3 separate regions of the Homo sapiens genome follow, and regions 2 and 3 are each linked to region 1. Evidence: promoter capture Hi-C in 16 types of primary human blood cells and fetal thymus (Javierre and others, 2016). All regions are on one chromosome and are shown on one strand. The core of a region is centred on a gene start or on the middle of the fragment in contact, and the rest is flanking DNA. Distances in the headings are between cores, read along the strand shown.

What was found. The method cuts DNA at HindIII sites, captures the fragments that hold promoters and counts their contacts. A CHiCAGO score of 5 or more calls a contact.
Region 2: a fragment that was not itself captured here is called in contact with the fragment with the promoter of ANKRD29 in region 1 in 4 of 17 cell types (M1 macrophages, M0 macrophages, M2 macrophages and 1 more); the score reaches 7.0 in M1 macrophages.
Region 3: a contact is called between a fragment that was not itself captured here and the fragment with the promoter of ANKRD29 in region 1, in 1 of 17 cell types (M1 macrophages). The highest score is 5.2, in M1 macrophages.

The regions. Positions count from the first base shown.
Region 1 is chr18:23,661,648-23,665,163 of GRCh38, forward strand. ANKRD29 (ankyrin repeat domain 29) reads right to left here and starts at 1,264. Exons shown (of 10, transcript NM_173505.4): 1 at 1,063-1,264. The coding sequence starts at 1,083. The HindIII fragment of the contact is 8,557 bases long and covers 1-1,620 here.
Region 2 is chr18:23,801,736-23,805,314 of GRCh38, forward strand. The region is part of intron 12 of LAMA3 (laminin subunit alpha 3); the gene reads left to right. Among named protein-coding and RNA genes, the nearest start is that of LAMA3, 110 kb to the left of the region's middle. The HindIII fragment of the contact is 4,878 bases long and covers 1-3,579 here.
Region 3 is chr18:23,906,298-23,909,671 of GRCh38, forward strand. It overlaps LAMA3 (laminin subunit alpha 3), which reads left to right. Exons shown (of 75, transcript NM_198129.4): 53 at 1,253-1,369; 54 at 1,459-1,638; 55 at 2,856-2,998. Among named protein-coding and RNA genes, the nearest start is that of LINC02958, 75 kb to the right of the region's middle. The HindIII fragment of the contact is 6,258 bases long and covers 1-3,374 here.

The sequences.
Region 1 (3,516 bases), core at 14-2,513:
GCAGTGAGCTGAGATCACACCATTGCACTCCAGCCTGGGCAACAAGAGCAAAACTCCGTCTCAGGAAAAAAAACTTTAAAGTCATTCACATTCGTCTGCTTCGTTCCATTCTCACCACCTATGCACTGGTCCAGTACCATTTCTTAAAAAGATGACAACATCTTCCAGCTCCAACCCTCTTCTCCAAACCTAGCCAGAGATCTTTGCAACATGCACATCTCGCCATGTCACTCCTCTGCTTACATGAGCTATTGTCGGCAACGGGATTACAGTGGCTTAGGAGTCAGACACACTTGGGTTTCAGTCTTAACACCATAACTTATTGGCTGCAAAACCGTGGGTGAGTTAATTTCTCTATATCTTAGTTTTCTCATTTGAAAAAAAAAAAAAAAAGAGCCACGAAGAGCACCTCCCACAGGTCTCCCCCAGGGTTGAGACCATACACACCATGTCCTTGGTTCAGAGTCAGGCACATTTGAACTGTTTAATACATTTTAACTGCTATTTTTATTAAACCCTTTCAATCGAGGCAAATCAACCTCTTTCATCCTAAAATGTGGGGATTAGATGGAATGACTTTAATCAACTCTTTTGAGACAAGACACCTTTGGACCCTGAAGCCTCCCTGGGTGCTGGCCACCCCTCCGGGGAGGAGGCATCCGTGGGTGCAGCTGGTACTCCTGCATGAGGACCCAGAGGGTCAGGGTCGGGGACTCCTTCTGCTGCAGGACAGCGCTGACCCCAGGCTTCTTACCCGCCCCCGACCTGTTACCCGGCGACAGTCCCCGCCGCCCCGTCGCCGGGCACAGACTCAGCCGATCCACAGCCATGAGTGCGAAGCCTCTCAGGCAGGGCAGGCAGGCAAACCGCAAACCCACAGGGCGCACCCAGCCCCGCCGCTTCCTCCCGGGCCTCGCCCGCAGCTGGAGGAGAGAGGAAGGAGGAGGCGGCGGGCAGCGGGCAGCGCCCACCCCATCCCACCCCATCCCACCCCACCCGACCCCGCGGGCCCGGCCGCCCGAGCCCGGCCCCAGCCCTGACCCCGGAGTCCCGGTCGCTCACCTTGAAGGACATCCTGCACATGTCCGCGGCCGCCCGAGCGGGAGCCGGCGCGCTTTGGGCCCGGGGCGCCTTGTCCTCCCCGGCCCTTCACTCTCCCGGGGCTCTCGGCGTTCCGCAGAGGGGCGGCCTCCGACGCCGCGCGCTCCCGCCGCCCGGCCCGGCAGCAGCCGCCGCACACAGGGCCGGGCCGAAGGGGCGGCGCGGGGGCGCGCGCGCGCGCACACTACACATGGGGTGTCGCGTGGACGCGCTCCAGGACCTGCCACACACGCGCGTGCACAAACACCCCAAACTCCGCACGCACTGTGCACTTTCCACACACGTCCACACTTCCACACTCACTCGTCCACACACACACTCCAAACTCCACACACATTGTGCATACGCTCCACATTCCACACACACAGAGGTTCCACACACATACTTTCCACACTCACGCCCACTCACCCGCATGTACTCACACACAAACTCCATACATATCCTCCCAAATAGACTGGTCTGCCCCAGAGGACTCCCAACCTTCATTACAGCACAAATATTATAATGATGTAAAAATGAAGCTTGAGGAAAAAATTCATCCAATAGCTATTTTCGTTATAATTTCTTTCTCGGTTTCCTGGGAAACTTTTTTCTCCTGGGGAAAATATCTAGGAAACAAACCTTTTGATTGCACAAACAATAAGTGGTCTTTTCCTCTTTGAAGGGCAAAGGCCAATTTTGGAATAGACTCATACCCCTCCTCCTCCTCCGCGTTATTAATCCAGCAGTTCCCTCCTCCTCTGGGTCTGATGCTGCAGCCCTGGAGTATTGCAGTATGTGTGTCCACTCCTGCTGCCTGCCCAGGATTGGTTTGGGCGAAGTAAAACTGGGAGTTTTAAGTATAAACGGCAACAACAGCTCTTTGAGAGCATTTTAGAAAAGTGAAAGTAAAAAAGTAGCCCAGGCATAGTGGCTCACGCCTATAATCCCAACTCTTTGGGAGGCCAAAGGCGGGCAGATCACTTGAGTCCAGGAGTTCGAGATCAGACTGGCCAACATGGCAAAACTCTATCTCTACTAAAAATACAAAAATTAGCCAGGCGTGGTGGTGCGCACCTGTAGTCCCAGCTACTCGGGAGGCTGAGGTGGGAGGATCGCTTGAACCTGGGAGGTTGAGGCTGCAGTGAGCCAAGATTCGGTCACTGCACTCCAGCCTGGGCAACAGAGCAAGACTCTGCCTCAAAAATAAAAATAAAAACAAAACAAAAAAATAGTATAAAAATGGAGGTCTTACCCCCTCAAACTATAAGAATCCACTCATTCATTCTCCCCCTCCTTCCCTCTTCTCAATTAAATTTGTAACGAATATTTAATTTAAAAGGTAGAAAACAATTACAAATAAAAGTTAATGATAAAAATTAAAATGTTTAACCTTCATGGATAAATTGTATTACTTTGTGCTTAAAACAACTTTAAATTAAAAACATTCTGAACTTTTATAGAAAATTCCAATTTTAAAAATAAGGACTCTAAACATTTTCCTTGCCTTGAGTGCCTATAAATGACACAGTTTTTAAGTTGCCACACAACGTTATTATATAAAAATCAAGCATCAGAGGTTTTGCTTTAATAGTTTTTTGTTTGTTTGTTTGTTTTTTCTTCTCAGATGGAGTTTCGCTCTTTTGCCCAGGCTGAAGTGAAGTGGCATGATCCTGGCTCACTGCAACCTCCACCCCCCGGGTTCAAGCAATTCTCCTGCCTCAGCCTCTCGAGTAGCTGGTATTATAGGCTCCTGTCACCGTGCCCAGCTAATTTTTGTATTTTTAGTAGAGACAGGGTTTCGCCATGTTGGCCAGGCTGGTCTCGAACTACTGACCTCAGGTGATCCACCTGGTTCGGCCTCCCAAGGTGCTAGGATTACAAACGTGAGCCACCGCGCCTGGTCTGCTTTAATAGTTTTGATAAATAAAAGGGAGAAAGGAAAGAACTAATATTTTGAGTGTTTTCTAGGTACAAGGTGCTTTCCTTATAAACATTTTATGGGGTGAGTATTAACCCATTCCACGGATGAAAAAACTAAGATTCTGAGAGATTGGAGTAATTTGCTAATAAGTGATAGGGCTAGGTGTTTGTCTAGCTCCAAAGCCTGTTTCCTTTCCGTTACACTTGAGCTCAAAGCTGCTTTTCTCTGGCCAGGGTGCTGATGGGATTCTTGTCAGTCTCTGGAAAGAACGTGCCTAACACCGTCTGACACACGCGGTTAAACTCATCTTCATATAAACAGCTCTGAAATGGAACAAAGCTCTCATGGTCACAACAGGCAATTCTTTCTAAAATGGTCCACTCCAAACTTTAATAGTGACCCACTGGACCTAATACAAGATTTAATCTGCACGGCCCAGTTTTCTTATCCAAACATCTTCTCACTACCCAAACAGAGCCTCTCCATCCTTGTCATCCTGTCAAACAAAAGGG
Region 2 (3,579 bases), core at 204-2,703, 140 kb after region 1:
TTCTAACGGAGATGATATCTCATTGTGGGTTTGATTTTCATTTCCCTGATGATTAGTGATGTTGAACATTTTTTCGTATACTTGTTGGCCTTTTGTATGTCTTCTTTTTAGAAATGTCTATTTATATCCTTTGCCCACTTTTAAATCACATTATTTGATTTTTTGCTGTTCAGTTGGAAAACAAAGATTTTTGTTTTACATACATATAACATACGCATATACAGAAAAAACATATTCATAACAAAATAGGAAGAAATACTCACTACAATTACAAATACTAATTTCTGTAACAGGTCACATGGTCATAGCTGGTATAAGTTGAGCATCCCAAATACAAAAATCCAAAATGCTCCCGCATCCAGAACTTTTTGAGTGCTGACACGATGCTCAAAACAAATACTCATTGGAAAATTTTGGATTTTGAATATTCAAATTTGAGATGCCCAATCAGGTATAATGCAAATATTCCAAAATCTGAAAAAATAAAAAATCTAAAACATGTTTGGTCCCAGCATTTCGGATAAGGGATACTCAAACTGTATTTGTAACTACCTTCTTCTGCCACCCATTCCATATTCCCTTTGCCCTCAGCAAGCACCTCATGGTTCTTTACCTGGTGAAGTGACACAAATCTTCATTCTTGAAGGGTCTAGGACATCAGTAGTCTTGCCTGAATTGGGTTGTAGTTTTCCATTGACTTTAATCACAAGACATGGTAATACTAAGAGACACCTTAAGTCATCTCCTGTATTCTAGACATATTCTTCCTTACCTCCATTTTTGAAGAACAGTTCATTTTCCCCTTGGTAATTAGTGGAACACAATTGCTTCTATCTTCATCTGTTGATTCAGAGGAATGAGGAAACCATGTAGCAGTCTTAACTTCCAGTTCAATAGAATGATCGTCACGTCTCCTGGTAGAAGCATTTCTTCCTCTGGAACTAAGACCTCTCGACCACCAGAGCAGAAGGCAGCTGGGATTGGAAGCTAGTTGATTACTAGGGTTTATAGTGAGTGATGCCACTCCCATTTCTACCTCTTGATTCCTGAACTCGTGAATCTTGGCTATCAGAGAAACCATATGTTGTACAATGATTCAGAGCAGATACTGCTTTCTGGAGAAACTTGCCTCAGCCCCGCAAGGTACTGCCACCTAGTAGTTTTCACCTACAGTGAAAACTCACTGTAACTGAGTTTTCAAAAGGCCATTCCACTGTTGTATTAAGCCACCTGTTCAGGATGGTGGGGAAAGTGGTGAGATTAGTGAATTCCATGACCATGGGCTCACTGCTGCATTCCATTTGTTGTGAAGCGAGTTCTTTGATCAGAAGCAATACTATGTGGATACTATGACAGTAAATAAAGCATTCTGTAAGTCTACAAATGTAGTTTTGACAGAAGCATTGCATGCAGAGAAGGAATTTCTGTATCCAAGTAAGTGTCCATTCCAATAAGAACAAAACACTTCCCCTTCCATGATAGGACAGTTCAAAGTAATTAACCTGCCACCAGGTAGCCAGCTGATTACCCTGGAGAATGGTGCCATATTGAGGACTTGGTATTGGTCTCTGCTGCTCGCAGACTGGGAACTCAGCTGTGGTGAGTGGAAGTACATTTTGCTGAGCCCAGGGATAAACTCCATCCCTGCCCCCATGGCTACTTTGTTATGAGCCCACTGGACAATGATAGAAGTGGATGGGACAGAGGCTGCCGGGTATCCACAGAACAGATCCTCCTGTCTACTTGGGAAGCATTCACCTAGGACATGTTTCTTAGCCATTTAGAGAGGGTTTTCACTCAGACCCTTCCCCAGATCTTCCTGTCACCAATTTTCCAATCATGTTCCTTCAAAGTCCCTGGCCATCCAGTCAAAGAATTGGCCACAGCCCATTAATCAATATGTAATTTCACATCTGGCCATTTCTCCTTCCAAGCAAAGTGAACAACCAGCACACTGCTCAAAGTTCTCCCTACTGGGAGGATTTCCCTTCACCACTGTCCTTCAGGATGTCCCAGAAAGGCACAAATGTGCTGCAGCTGTCCACTTTCAGGTGATGCCTCCATATCTTGCAATACCTGGTCTAAAACAGGCCTAAGTTTTCTCTTTCTTTGTTAACTGATCACAAGGAACTCACCATAATGCTGTAGATGTGGAATGTAGCAGGAGTGTGGAGTGTGGCGTTCTTTGCATAGCTTACTTGTGTAGAGGCTGCTTGGATCCAATCTTATGTATACCACTTCCATTTGATGACGGAATGCTGCTGTGCTTGCCCAACTTATGGCTTCGTGGGTCAGATAACACCCAGTTCATAATGGTCAGCTCACATCACATAGTGACTTCATGGCCCATGGTTAAGCCTTCTGTCTCTACTAAGACCCAGTAGAAAGTGAAAAGCTGTTTCTCAAAAAAAAGTTATCTGCAGAGGATGGCTTATATGTAGACGGTGGCAGGACTTTGCTCCAAAATCCTAAGGGTCTGCACTGTCGTTCACTTATGTGGGCCTGCTGAAGGCTCCAAAAAGCATCCCTATCTGCCACTGACACTTAAAAGCACCATTAGATCTGCTCAGTCATATGCTTTAAGTGGCAGAACAGCTTACACAGCAGCCTGGACCTGCTGCAGAGCCTTCCCTTGTTCTGGGACTCACACTACTGGACCCTTAGAAATTTAACTGAGGTAGAAGACTCTGGATGTTTTATTGCATTTAATTTTTACCTCCTGACACCCAAATGTCTTACCAATAAGTCTAGAGTAGTTGCTACTTCTTGTTCACTAGCTCCAATTAGCATAATGTCCTCAATGTAATAGACCGATGTGATGCCTTATGGAAGGGAAAGGTGATCAAGATCCCTGTGACCTAAATTATGACACAGGACCAGAGTTGATAGACCCCTGATGTAGGACAGTGATATAGTTTGGATGTTTGCCCCCTCCAAACCTCGTGTTGAAATCTGATCCCCAATGTTGTAGGTGGGGCCTGGTGGGAGGTGTTTGGATCATGGAGATGGATCCTTCATGAATGGCTTAGTATTGTCCTCCTGATAGTGGGTGAGATCTCTCTCTGAGTTCACTTGAGATCTGGTTGTTTAAAAGTGTGTGATACCTCCCCCTACCTTGCTTCTGTTCTTGCTATGTGATGTACTGGCTCCCCTTTACCTTCTGCCATGGGTTGTAAGTTCCCTGAGACCCTCACCAGAAGCAGATGCTGGCACCATGCTTCCTGTACAGCTTGCAAAACTATGCCAATTAAATTTCTTTTCTTCATAAATTACCTAGCCCCAGGTATTTCTTTATAGCAACATAAAAATAGCCTAATACAGACAGTGAAAGTATATTGCTGGCCTGGCCAGTTGAAAACAAACTGCTTGTTGGTTTTTACTAAAGGTGTGAAGGAAAAAAGCATTTGCCAGACTAACAGCTGCATTCCAGGTGTCAGGTGATATGTTAATTTGCTCAAGCAATGAAGCCACATCTAGTATAGCAGCTGCAATTGGAGTTGCTACCTGGTTAAGTTTATAATAATCTACTGTCATTATCCAGGATACATCTATGTTCTGTACAGGCCAAATAGATGAATC
Region 3 (3,374 bases), core at 781-3,280, 250 kb after region 1:
CATTAGAATAACTGCTTTAAAATTTCTTAAGTCCTAAAATCTTTGCAACTAAAAGTCCCCAAAATCACTGCTACTGTGAAGCATGAGAATTTTTTAAGCATAAATTTTATCTCTGGAAAATTTTCATGTATTTTACTTACTTATTTTTTTAAATAATTAAACTCTCTCAATCTCACCAAATTTCTGTGTTTGAAAAATGCTGTTTCTTGTGTTTCTCCAGGCTCTTGTTGTCATCCATGAGTCCAAGGCCCTCATTCAGCCTCTTAGTCCTTTCAGAGGGATTAAATGATGCCTCTGTAAATTAAATAATTTCTCTCCTTTCTGCTTCCTTCTTTTCCTTCCTTCTTTCTTTCTCTCTTTCCTTCACATGTTAAAAAATTAAAGACATGAAAAATAAAATACCAAAAAAGTACTAACATACAATCATTTGCCTTGCAAATTTCAATAATTTGGATTTCCTGGTATGACATCTATTTCTCTCTACAAAATTTGAGCTTCGAGGTAGGCTCAGTGTGCTAAACAGGGTTAGGATGCTAACTATGTTGCTATGTAAACCAGTCCTGGAATCGTAATTGAAGCCATGAATCATCAAGATGGTCTTAAAGCATTTGCTGGTCATTTTTGATGACCCAAGGATGGCAATATTATCAGCTAGGAATGTCTGCTAGCTCCCTTTCTTTCACAGAATTTTTAAAATGTGTCATTTTGGAAATTAACAGAAACAAACAGTGCCTACTTTGTGTCTGTATTTGCCTGGATGAGGCTCTTTCAACAACACTCTTTTCTTGTCCTCTGATGGAAGAGGATCCTTTCTACATTATTAATTCATTCATTCACTCATGTATTCATTTACTCAACAAACATATACTAATATTACGCCTCAACTAGTGCCAGACACTACATTATGTGGTAGGACATGGTAGTGGATAAGACAGATGCATCTTTTACTAAACAGAGTCTCTTACTCTGAGCAGTTAAGAAGTTTAGCCTTCCCCAAGTTATTCAGCCTCTTTCTTTCTTCCTGTGTATTTCCAAGGCATTACCACAAGGCTCTGATTTGCTGCTGACCTCTGTAACTGGAGGATCCCAGAGCTGTGGGTCTGGGCACATGCAGTGGGCATCTCTGAGGTGACCCCTAAGAAGCAAGTCTACTCAATGCTGTGCAGACACTGGCTACTTCAGGGGCCACAAATACCAATGGAGGATCAAAATGCACAAAGTAATTGCCTCCTGATGCTTTATTTTATTTTAGAAGTCAGTCCAGCTCTCAACAACCTACAGCAAACCCTGAATATTGTGACAGTTCAGAAAGAAGTGATAGACACCAATCTCACAACTCTCCGAGATGGTCTTCATGGGATACAGAGAGGTCAGCATCTTCCTAATCCATTGTACTCGGTTGGCTTCTTTTGTTGAACGTTTTAGATACTTATACCTCCCTATCTGTGTGTGCATTAGGTGATATTGATGCTATGATCAGTAGTGCAAAGAGCATGGTCAGAAAGGCCAACGACATCACAGATGAGGTTCTGGATGGGCTCAACCCCATCCAGACAGATGTGGAAAGAATTAAGGACACCTATGGGAGGACACAGAACGAAGACTTCAAAAAGGCTCTGACTGATGCAGATAACTCGGGTATCAGGCGATCTCTGGCCAGGACATCTTAGCCATTCTCTCCATTGTTATGTGTTTTGGTCCATTTCCATTCTTCCCTGGTAAAGTCTGATCTCAGAAACTAAAACATTAGAAAACAGCTCCACCTGATACAGGATATATTCAAAGCGTATAGATATCCTGCTAGTTGGAAGGACCAGACAGGATTTTTAATTTTTAGAAAATACATTGAAAATGCTATTGGTTTGCTTTTTTACAAAGTGGAGATATATGTTTCTAAATCATGAGGCATTGAATTATGATTGATATTAAGAATCAGAAAACAGGCTGTGTTTTCTGTGCGCTGTGGCTCATGCCTGTAATCCCAGCACTTTGGGAGGCCGAGGTGGGTGGATCACGAGGTCAGGAGATCGAGACCATCCTGGCTAACATGGTGAAATCCTGTCTCTACTAAAAATACAAAAAATTAGCCAGGCGTGGTGATGGGCGCCTGTAGTCCCAGCTACTCGGGAGGCTGAGGCAGGAGAATGGCGTGATCCTGGGAGGTGGAGGTTGCAGTGAGCTGAAATTGCACCACTGCACTCCAGCCTGGACGACAGAGCGAGACTCCATCTCAAACAAAAAAAAAAAAAAAAAAAGGAAAGAAAGAAAGAAAAAGAATCAGAAAACAAAGGTTTTTTTTTTTCTTTCTGTAGTGGTCAAAGTAAAGGATTTGGTACCTAGATTGCAGAATACAATTCACCATGTACAGTAGTTCCTCCTTATCCTCAGGGGATATGTTCCAAGACCCCTACTGGGTGTGTGAACCCACAGATAGTACCAAACCCTATATATACTATGTTTTTTCGATCTGATAACCCAGACAGCTACTAAGTGACTAATGGGTGGGTAGGGTAGACAGCAAGGATATGCTGGAAAAAAGGAAGATTCACATGGGTGGGACCATATGAGATTTCGTCATGCTATTCCAAACAGCACCCAATTCAAAACTTATGAATTGCTTATTTCTGGAATTTTTCTTTTTTAATATTTTTGGACCATGGTTGATAGCAAGTACTTGAAACCTTGGGAAGTGAAACCATGGGTAAGGGGGGAACTACCGTAACTAATTATGACCCATCCTGTTCAACATCTGGGGACCAAACATGCCACTTGACAAATACTGTCAGTAAGAACATTTGTAGTTAGCCTTTTCTTAATGCACAATCTTACATTTCTATTTTTTTTCTCACCAACAGTGAATAAGTTAACCAACAAACTACCTGATCTTTGGCGCAAGATTGAAAGTATCAACCAACAGCTGTTGCCCTTGGGAAACATCTCTGACAACATGGACAGAATACGAGAACTAATTCAGCAGGCCAGAGATGCTGCCAGTAAGGTGAGTGTGTCCCCACGTGGTCAGTGGCCAAGGCTAGTTCTTTAATGAGTTATCACATTTATCAAGAAAGAAAAAAACACTTATTTACTCAAGAATTGGTTGTCTTTCTTTCCCCAATTCTTGTGTTGCTTGAATATAAAGATTGATTTTCTCCTGTCATCCTTTACAAGTGTACATGACCTTCATCCTTACATTATCTGGTATATCAGGATCCTGAAGCAATTTGCCCCCATTGAGTTTATTCAGGCAGAAAGAAGGATTTTCTTCCAGGCCCCAGTTTGTAAACTGTAATTGCACATTCAAGGGAGGGTTCTGTGGTCAGAATGTGCCAGTGTGATACTGCACAGGACCTACCCTCCTATTGTAACTTGAAAGT